Linked DNA regions of Homo sapiens: all the other regions are linked to region 1. Evidence: promoter capture Hi-C in human tissues and cell types (Jung and others, 2019). All regions are on one chromosome and are shown on one strand. The core of a region is centred on a gene start or on the middle of the fragment in contact, and the rest is flanking DNA. Distances in the headings are between cores, read along the strand shown.

What was found. Contacts are between HindIII fragments. The study calls those that stand out against the background at their distance.
Region 2: a contact is called between a fragment that was not itself captured here and the fragment with the promoter of TP53INP2 in region 1, in 4 of the 25 tissues and cell types used here (dorsolateral prefrontal cortex, lymphoblastoid cells, mesenchymal stem cells and 1 more).
Region 3: a contact is called between a fragment that was not itself captured here and the fragment with the promoter of TP53INP2 in region 1, in 2 of the 25 tissues and cell types used here (mesenchymal stem cells and spleen).
Region 4: a contact is called between a fragment that was not itself captured here and the fragment with the promoter of TP53INP2 in region 1, in 2 of the 25 tissues and cell types used here (mesenchymal stem cells and thymus).

What each region holds. Positions count from the first base shown.
Region 1 is chr20:34,703,048-34,705,630 of GRCh38, forward strand. TP53INP2 (tumor protein p53 inducible nuclear protein 2) reads left to right here and starts at 1,297. Exons shown (of 5, transcript NM_021202.3): 1 at 1,297-1,465; 2 at 2,311-2,427. It overlaps LOC105372599 (a long non-coding RNA gene), which reads right to left and starts at 1,135. Exons shown (of 2, transcript XR_936690.3): 1 at 1,090-1,135; 2 at 612-766. RefSeq lists a silencer at 1,093-1,572. The HindIII fragment of the contact is 10,895 bases long and covers 1-2,583 here.
Region 2 is chr20:34,450,111-34,452,693 of GRCh38, forward strand. The region is part of intron 12 of ITCH (itchy E3 ubiquitin protein ligase); the gene reads left to right. Among named protein-coding and RNA genes, the nearest start is that of MIR644A, 15 kb to the right of the region's middle. The HindIII fragment of the contact is 3,166 bases long and covers 1-2,583 here.
Region 3 is chr20:34,468,534-34,471,116 of GRCh38, forward strand. It overlaps ITCH (itchy E3 ubiquitin protein ligase), which reads left to right. Exons shown (of 25, transcript NM_031483.7): 15 at 1,515-1,587. Among named protein-coding and RNA genes, the nearest start is that of MIR644A, 3.5 kb to the left of the region's middle. The HindIII fragment of the contact is 6,936 bases long and covers 1-2,583 here.
Region 4 is chr20:34,833,334-34,835,916 of GRCh38, forward strand. It overlaps the pseudogene HMGB3P1. Among named protein-coding and RNA genes, the nearest start is that of NCOA6, 9.0 kb to the left of the region's middle. The HindIII fragment of the contact is 6,602 bases long and covers 1-2,583 here.

The DNA.
Region 1 (2,583 bases), core at 47-2,546:
GCAGAGAGTGTGGAAGAATCTTACAATGGCAGCTCTAGAGGGAAGCCTGGATATGTTTGTTTGACAAACTGAGACCCAGAGAGGTAACATGACTTGAGGTCACACAGCAAGTCTAGGGCACAGTCAGGACTGAAAGCCAGGACTCTGGGGAGGCTAAAGCGCCCTGAGGTTTAGACCATCTGGTTCATGTAGAGAATGGAGAGGGTCAGGGCTGGGAGCTATGGGTTCAAATCCTGGCTCTGCCATTGACTGTACTTTTGTGACCTAAGAAAGTCACTTGAGCTCTCTGAGTCTGTTTCCTCAACTGTTAAACGGGACAATATCTACCTTTTGGGTTGTTGTGAAGATAAAAAAACACACCCATAGCACAGGTCGTGGCACACAGTAAGTGTGCCAATACATGTCAGCTAGTGGTATGGTGGTGCAATAGTAGGTGCCTAATAAATGTTGAATGCATTGTTGAACATGAGTTCACACGCTAACAGTGAGATTGTGAGACTCAGCTTTCCCACGTGTAAATCAGGACTCATAATCAGTCCCTGTCCTGCCACTTCTTTACAGCCCCGGTAGCAACATAGATTAAATAAGGTATGTAAACGTTCAAGCGCGGAGCCGTCTCAGGTCAATGTTTACTCAGCCCAGGGCAATTCCTCTCCAAGTCCTACTCTGCGAAATTTCACGTCAGCTTCACTAACTTCTCTACATTCCCAGATGCTCCCCGGGAACCGGGGGTTGGGGATGTCCCTCTTTTCTCAAGCCCGCCGAGCTGAGGAAAAACGGGGTGGGAAAGCAGAGTGTGTAAGGCTGAGGAGGTGAGCCAGAGGGGGGAGGGAGAGCAGGAATAAGGGCAGTGGGGAGAATGCAGGTGCACGGACGTGGTGTGGGTCGAGAACAGGGTCCGCATCGGGGGACTTGGATATAGGATGCAGTGAAAGGATTTGGGGAGCAGTGGGAGAGGTGAGGGCGCTGCGATCCGGGAAGAATCAGGAAAATAAGGAGCCGGTAGGAGGGAGTGGAGATCCTCCTCGCGGAGAGCTCGCCGCGGCGCAGGGCTCCCAGCTCCCCGCAGCTGCCTCCCCGAACACTCACCCTCCCGGTTCCGAGAACGTTTCCCGGCCCGAGCGCCCGGCCCGCAAACCGGGAGGGGAGGGGAGGGGAGGGGCAGGGGGGGATCCGCAGCCCGGGATTGGCCGCCGCCCCGCCAGCCGGTGACGCGAGGCGGGCGGGCCCCTTTGTGACGTCACAATCAGCTGTTTGAACGTTCCAATTTGTGCCGTGAGCCCCGCCGCAGCGGCCGCACAGACTCAAAGCCCCGCGGGCGAGCTCAGCAGCCCGGAGCGACCGCGGCCCCGCCGCCTCCCCCGCGAGTCCCGGCGATGCGGCCCGGCCTGTGAGCGGCCGGCGACCCTGGGACGCCCCGCCGCACAACTACCTCAACGCCGTGCCGCCCCCCTCCCGCCCCCAGGTGAGTCCCGACCCGGGTGGGCCTGGGGGCTCCCCTGCCACGGACACGCCCTGCGCCCCCCGCGCCCGGGCCTTTGTCTGTCTCCGCCGGCGGCCGCCGGGGCCGCGTTCCCGGCTCCCGATTGGTTGCCGCACGCCCGGTAGACCATGACGTCGTTCTATTTGCATATGACATTGAGACGTCACCAAGGCCGGTACCGCCCCCACAGGCTCGGGTCGCTTGTCCTCCCGTGACCCGGTAGCCGCTGTGTCGGGGCTGGGCCCTGGGTGAGACGCTGCAATCCAAAGGGGGCTGCAGGGGGATCGGCGATTTCCTAGGCTTATCCAGGGGCTGGGGTCAGGCCTCTGATCCCCTACTTTCTCTTTGCAACCTGAGAAGGAGTCAGACGGCGCTGCTGGGCCTAGGTTGAGGGGGTCGTCAGGAGTTCAGGGCTGCATGGGACTCCAGGTGGTTGGGACAGCACCAGATGGTGGTGGGATCCCCTCCCTCCGGCTCCAGACTCCGCCCCCAGGGACTAACAGAATAACATCCTCCTAATCCCTGATTTGTGTGCAGCGCCTTAGCTGATGTCACTCCTAGACCCAAAATGAAGGGTCTTAGACCCCAGTGCATGGAAGGGGCAACAGGCCCAGAGAGGAGGATTAGCTCTCTCGAGGTCACATAACCAATTAGAGTCATGCTCACTGAGTGACAGATGGATTATTAGCCAGGGGCAAAGACATAATAGGGGCTCAGTACAAGTGGTAAGATACACATCCTCCTTCCACTGGGGACCCGATCTTGGGCTCAGCCTTATCACGGTTTGATAGGCTCCTAGGTGTCCTTACTCCTGGACCCTTTTCCAGGGAATCTCTGGAGATTGGTTCACCTTTTGTGGTCCTGACCCCTTCTGTCCTCACTGTACCTTGAAGTCCTAGAGTCCAATAAAATCGCTGCCTCCCAGCTGTTTGGATCACAGAGAGGTGAGTCATTGGCTGCCTCGGGGTGTCTCCAGGGCTGATGTTGGGGTGGAGGGTGGGGTGAGGGTTCCCTCTATTGGCCCTTTACCTTCCCAACTTCCTAGGTCGTCAGCTAGGAAGGGCCTGACCTGGCCTAGTGCAGACAATTGCAGGTGTTTT
Region 2 (2,583 bases), core at 48-2,547, 250 kb before region 1:
TCAGCTTTTAAACATGGTGAAAATTTAACAATGTTTGTGGTTAACAATAATGTACCAATGCCACTTCTGTGGTTTTGATGCTGTACGTAGTTATATAAGATGTCACCATCGGAGAAAAATGAAGTATATGTGAGACTTTTTGTGCAATTTTTTACATCCTGTGAGTAATAATTAATTCAAAATAAAAAGCTTTTTAAAAAATTGTAATCACATTGGTTCTCCTAAAACAAGGTTCAGAGTTTGGTTAAGTTGGCATTATCTGATAGAAGAGTGGAAGGAGCACATGTGAAGGTGTCAACTTCATGCCCTACACCATGGAGCTCAAGAGCATGTGCTGTTATTGAGTATATCTGATACCTTAGTTATTAAAATAGACCTTAATAGACTTTAAGCTGGACCTACCCTACTAGGTTCTATTTTATAGTGTTATGTAATACTCACAGCATTATATAGCAAGGTTTCAGAATAAAGATGGCAGTATAGAAAGTTTTGCATAGAAGCAAGATAATAATATATTATAATAGAAAGTGGAAAACAACATAAAGCCCATTGTGGAACCAGAGTTTTGTCTTCAAGAGCTGAAGATACTTCATAATATTGGGATAAATTCAGAAAGTGATATTTCTAGATTGGGAAAAGTTGGTCCCCAAGATACATTGTTCTAGCAGTACTGAGTTATGGAGAAAAAATGTTGGTGTGTCAAGATCACATGAGTCTGGTTAATAAATGCTACTGGGGGTATAAGCTTTTCTTTGAGAAATCTCATTGCTCTTATTTAAAGGTATCTATTCTCAAAACACTTCTGTGAGTCAAAAAGGTAAAAAATGTATTAGGCTATACATATAACTGTTACTGTTATTAGCTTATAACAACAGGAGGACATATGAAAGTTGTGGGCCCGATGCAGTGACTTACACTTATAATCCTAACACTTTAGGAGGCTGAGGCAGGTGAATCGCTTCAGTTCAGGAGTTCAAGACCAGCCTGACCAACATGGTGAAACCCTGTCTCTACTAAAAATACAAAAAAATTAGGTGGGCTTGGTGGCCCGTGCCTGTAATCCCAGCTGCTCAGGAGGCTGAGGCAGGAGAGTCACTTGAACCCGGGAGGCGGAGGTTGCAGTGAGCCAAGATCGCGCCATTGCACTCCAGCATAGGCGACAGAGCGAGACTCCGTCTCAAAAAAAAAAAAAAAAAGAAATTAGCCAGGCATGGTGGTGCTTGCCTATAGTCCCAGCTACTCTTGAGGCTGACGTGGGAGGATCGCTTGAGCTTGGGAGTTTGAGGCTTCAGAGAGTCGAGATCACACTATTGCACTCCAGCCCGGGTGAGAGAGCAAGACCCTGTCTCAAAAAAAAGAAGAAAGCAAGTTGTGAATTTCTGTCTTTACCAAAGCTTGGCAGCCTGGAGTTAAGGAGTCCTCTGTCTCTACTGAAGCCTAAGAGTGGTCAGTGAATGGTTAGTATGAAGTACTTTAGAAGAGGGGATGTTGCCCTTACAAGGCATATTAAACTTAACCTGTCAGATTGCATTCCCAGACATGGATGGTTTTATTTCTAGAGTTTCCCAGCTTTATTTCTAGAGTTGTATGTCTTATGTTAGAGAAGGAGAAAAAAACTCATGCACTAAAATGATATATCCAAAGGATATGTATTTATCCTCTTAATTTTATTGCAGGCCAGGCATGGTGGCTCACACCTGTCATCTCAGCGCTTTGGGAGGCTGAAGTGGGAACATTGCTTGAGCCCGGGAGTTGGAGATCAGCCTGGGCAACATAGCGAAAACCTGTCTCTATAAAAAAATACAAAAAATAATCTGGGTGTGGTGGAACACCTCCTAATCCCAGTTTCTTGGGAGGCTGAGGTGGGAGGATCACCTGAGCCTGGGAAGTCAAGGCTGCAAGTAGGCCAAGATTTTGCCACTGTGCTTCAGCCTGGGCAACAGAGTGAGACCCTGTCTCAAAAAAAAAAAAAAAAAAAAAAAGTTGCAGAAAAACTATGACCTGCTTCATGGTTATGGTCAGAAACAAAACTGTTTTACTCCTTCTCTAGGGCAGGTGTAGAAAAAAATGCCTCTTGCTTATAGAAAGCTGAATTGTGAGCTGCGTTTCCTTTATCAGAAAAGTCTTTCCTGCAAGTTGGTCCTTGCCTTCTGTATTCATCATTTTCTTTATCATCCAGATCTTTCTCATTTTTACTTTAGCCAACAACACTTTGCTAAAATACTGTGTTAAAGATCCAGCTTAGCCAGGTTATTAGAGTCTTGTTCTGCTATTTTACAGTCTGCTTATTTTTAGGTTTCACATTCCTCATGTTGAAGTAGTGCTACAGATGTTTATGATTATCCTACTCAGACTGAGCACTGCTTTATGACTTGCTGCCTTTGGGGCATATACCTTACTTGTAGAACCAGTGACAGCACTGGTAGTATATCAGATGAAGCAACCCACCCAACATACCTTCAGGATTGACCCAGGTTGATAGAATCCCATCTTACAGCTTGCACCCTTTCAGACTTTTATATGCTGGGACTAGACATTCCTACCTCATAGGCTCAGTGAATAATTGGTTTTTTAGAGATGGGG
Region 3 (2,583 bases), core at 26-2,525, 230 kb before region 1:
TAATCCCAGCACTTTGGGAGGCCCAGGCAGGCAGATCACTTGAGGCCAGGAGTTTGAGACCAGCCTGGCCAACATGGCTAAACCCCGTCTCTACTAAAAATACAAAAATTAGTCAGTCATGGTGGTGGGCACCTGTAATCCCAGCTACTCAGGAGGCGGAGGCAGGAGAATCGCTTGAACCTCTGGGTCAGAGGTTACAGTGAGCAGAGATTGCGCCACTGCACTCCAGCCTGGGAGACAGAGCAAGACTCCATCTCAAAAAAAAAAAGAAAGAAAAGAAAAGAAATATAAGATGTATAAATTGGAAAGGAAGAAGTAAAACTGTCTCTTTTCCCCTCACACAAATAACGTTTGTATACAGAAAATCATGAAGAATCTAGAAAAAATTACTAGAACTAGTAAGTGAATTTAACAGCGTAACAGAATATAAAGTCAATGTACAAAATCAGTTGTATTTCTACACTGATATACATTGAATTTTTAAGAGGGAGATAATGCAGTGGTATTAAGTCCAAGGCTAGCTGAGAAACCCCATGGTGTCATAGTGATCTAAAATTCTTCTGTCTTTTCTACCATCCTAGAGTATGGTCTCATTCTTCAAAGTGACCTCATGGTCTGTGACAGCTGCTGAAACTTAAGCTATCAGGGTCACACTCCAGGCTGGAATTTGGAGGAAGGGCAAATTATAAACACACACACACACACACACACACACACTCACACACTTTTTAGCTATTTTAGCTGTCTTTTAGAAAATCCTTCCTTTTTTTTTTTAGACGGAGTCTAGCTTTGTCACCCTTGCTGGAGTGCAGTGGTGCAATCTCAGCTCACTGCAGCCTTGACCTCTGAGGTTCAAGTGATTCTCCTGCCTCAGCCTCCCAAGTAGATGGGATTAGAGGCACCTGCCACCACACCCGGCTAATTTTTATAATTTTTAGTAGAGACAGAGTTTCAACATGTTGGTCAGGCTGGTCTCAAACTCCTGACCTCAGATGATCCACCCGCCTCAGCCTCCCAAAGTGCTGGGATTTATAGGTGTGAACCACTGCACCTGGCCAAAAAGATCCTTCTTGAACGTTTCATATGCCACTTTCACTTAGAGACTTAAGTCACATGGCCATATAGAGAAATGTAGTCTTTATTATATGTAGCATTCTACTTAGTTAAATAGCAAGGGTTTTACTTAAAGATAAAGGAGGGAATTGATGTTGGGATAGACAGCATTCTCAGATAGAAACCCCTTTACTTAGCCCTCTTAGATTTGGCAGCATAGAAAAGAAAATCCCACAACAGTAGTTTCAACAAAATCAAAGTTTTTTGTTTGTTTTTTCTGTTACTTAAAAGTATTCTTGGGGAAATATCTCTCAAAAAGCAAAGAATGGTTTTGTTAGGAATATGCTATATTTTTGAATTTGGTTAGTAAGTGCTGAGAGAGGGTGGGATATTTTGCTTTCCTTCAGCATTATCTTTTACAAGCAGCTATATATGTCCTGTTAACCCTTGTTCTTCCTCAGAGACAATGGACCTCAGATAGCCTATGTTCGGGACTTCAAAGCAAAGGTTCAGTATTTCCGGTTCTGGTGTCAGGTTAGTATTGGAACTGTATCTCTGTACTGCCTTAACTTTGTTGTGTTGCTTTATATTACACAGTGATTGTGAAAATACTTAACTCACAGAAAAACAGGTAAAATGGGAAGCATTAGAATCTCTTTCATCTATTTTTAGAGCAAATAAATAGATTTATCAATTAGATCATTTGTGACTTTGGTTATTCAGAAAATTAAACCTCATGTAATCCCAGCACTTGGGGAGGCCGAGGTGGGCAGATCACTTGAGCTCAGGAGTTCAGGACCAGTCTGGGCAACATATTGAGGCCTTACCTCTGTAAATATATATATATATATATTTCTTTTTTTTAAAGAAGAAAATTAAACTTGAAACCATCTGAATAAGCAAACATTGTCACTTTTTCCTCAGTAGCCATTACTTTCAGATTGCAGGAATCTTCAAATGTAAGTAAAAGCATTTTCTGATATAATTTTAACCAGCTACTTTATTTTTATGTGTTATTTTTTCTGAGACAGGATCTCACTCTGTCACCCAGGCTGGAGTGCAGTGGTGCCATCATGGCTTACTGCAGCCTTGACCTCCTGGGCTCAAGTGATCCTCTTGCCTCAGCCTTCTCGCTAGCTGACACTACAGATGCACTTCACCACACCTGGCTAATTTTTAGTAGAGACAGGGTCCCCTTATGTTGCCCAGGCTGGTTTTGAACTCCTGGATTCAAATGATCCTCCTGCCTCATCTTCCCCAAGTGCTGGGATTACAGGCATAAACCAGCATGCCCGGACACCAGCCATTTTTATATCTATCGTTTGATATAACTGACTTTGATAGATAAATACATGTTCATACATACATGAACATGTCCATACATAGATGTTATATTCAGTGTTTTTTTCAGATGTGATCAACTATTTCTTATGTATAGATATTTACTGGAATTAATGATTTTTTATGGGTTCTAAATCAAATGAATGCCCTAGTCAAAGTTACTGTGATGAATATTTTTACACTTGAAAC
Region 4 (2,583 bases), core at 51-2,550, 130 kb after region 1:
CAAACAGGCTCAAGCTCTGCAGTGATAAGACTGACAGTGAATACTTCAATGATGTCTTTAAGAAAAACAATAATAAAACAGGGGAAAAAAGAAAGAACAAAACCATCTAGAAAGTGTCAACATTTTACTGTCTGCAGGGTTCGTCACAACAGTGCCAAATGACAAACTTACCACATTTAGTTGGATGAATTTTGCCCTGCAGAAGGATATCACCTTTTTTTTTTATAGGCAAACAGTTTATTTATTCATCCTCCTTCTCTTCCTCCCCATCTTCTTCATCTTCTTCTTCCATCTTTTCCCAGGCAACTTTAGCAGGACCTTTTGTGCCGTCCAACTTTCCTTTCGACTTATAGTCAGCAACATCCTTCTCATACTTCTTCAGCTTTGCCACCTTAGTGACATAAGGCTGCTTTTCACTGTCATTTAAGTTATTCCACATCTCACCCAGCTTTTTTGCCACGTCTCCAATAGAGATGCCAGGGTTTGTGGATTTGATCTTGGGGCAGAATTCTGAACAGAACAGGAAGAATCCAGACAGTGGCCTTTTGGGGGCATTAGGATCGTTCTTGCCTCCCTTAGCTGGTCCATAATCCTTCATTTCTCTATCACAGTGCACTTTATCCGCCTTTGCCATTTAATCGAATTTAGACTCTCTCTCTCTTTTTTTTTTTCTGAGATGGAGTTTTGCTCTTATTGCCCAGGCTGGAGTGCAGTGGCACGATCTCAGCTCACCGCAACCTCTGCCTCCTGGGTTCAAGCCATTCTCCTGCCTCAGCCTCCCCAGTAGCTGGGATTACAGGCGCCCACCAACACGCCCGGCTAGTTTTTTGTATTTTTAGTAGAGACGAGGTTTCACCATGTTGGCCAGGCTGGTCTCAAACTCCTTACCTCAGGTGATCCACCCAACTCACCCTCCCAAAGTGCTGAGATTACAGGCGTAAGCCGCCGTGCCCAGCCTAGACTTCTCTTTCCCAGACATTGTCTTCCACCTCTCAGAGCACTTTTTGGAAAATTCTGCAAAATTGACAGGGACCTCTGGATTTTTCTTATGCTCTTCTCTGCACGTCTGCACAAAGAAGGCAAAAGCAGACATCTTGCCCCTTAGTTTCCTGGGGTCACTTCTAGCCATCCTGACTGTATTGTTCACTAGTCTTGAAGGATATCACTTTTAAGTGGACACCATTCACATGACATTATAATTTGCAAATTTATTATGATAATTTACCAGTAGATGGCAGTAAAATGCCTTGTTATTTCAGAATCTGTTCGTTGTAACAATTTTCAGATATATGGAAATAAAATGCCTTGAGGAGGGGGTCACTTGTGCTTTGCATAAAGACATGCTATGGCGAGGCGCAGTGGCTCATGCCTGTAATCCCAGCACTTTCGGAGGTGGAGGTAGGTGGATTGTGTCAGCCCAGGAATTAGGGACCAGCCAGGGCAACATGGCAAAACCCCGTCTCTACAAAAAAATACAGAAATTAGCCAATCGTGGTGGTGCATCATGCCTGTAGTCCCAGCTCCATGGGAAGCTGAGATGGGAGGATCACTTGAGCCTGGGAAGCAGAGGTTGCAGTGAGCTGAGACTGCACCACTGCACTCCAGCCTGGATGACAGAGTGAGACTCTATCTCAAAAAAAAAAAAAAAAAAGCGGTGGTGGGGTGGGGGCTTACTATGGGCAAGCCATGGCTTGCTCTTCAGGAAAAAAATCATTGAAAAAATAGAAGAAATAGACTAATAATTACACAATTTTAAAAAGTGGAAGAATATCAAGTGACCATACATACACAAAAAGGTGGGGGTGGGGGAGAAAAAAAAAACTGTTTTCAAAAATATTCTGAAATTTTAAAGCTTTTTATTAGAGTATAATATAAAGACATAAAAGTACAGAAATCGTAAGTGTAAAGCCTGTTGAATTTCCACAAAGCCAACACACATGTCTAACAAACACCCAAATCAAGAAATAGAACATTCAGCCCCACAGAAGCCCCTTCCAGTCATTACCCACAGCCCCCAAGGTTAAACAGTATTTTAACTTCTAACTCCATAGATTAGTCTCACCAGGAGTTAAACTTACAGATTCATCTACATTGTTGCATGTAGTTGTAGCATGTTCATTTTCATTGCTGGGTAGCATTTCATTATTTATTTTTTATTTTTTTGAGACAGAGTCTTGCTCTGTCACCCAGGTTGGAGTGCAGTGGTGGGATCACAGGTCACTGCAGCCTTGACCTCCCAGGCTCAAGTAATCCTTCTGCCTCAGCCTCCCTAGTAGCTAGGACCACAGGTGCATGCCACTACACCATGCTAATTTTTGTATTTTTTGTAGAGACGGGGTTTCACCATGTTGCCCAGGTTGGTCTCAAACTCCTGGGCTCAAGTGATCCTCCCACCTCTGCCACCCAGAGTGCTGGGATTACAGATGTGAGCCACCACACCTGGCCAGCATTTTATTGTTTGAATACACCATAATTTATCCATTCTACTGTTAATGAGCATGTGGGTTTCCACTTAGGAGCTATTTTATTTTATTTTATTTATTTTTTTTAGAGATGGACTCTTGCTCTGTCACCCAGGCTGGG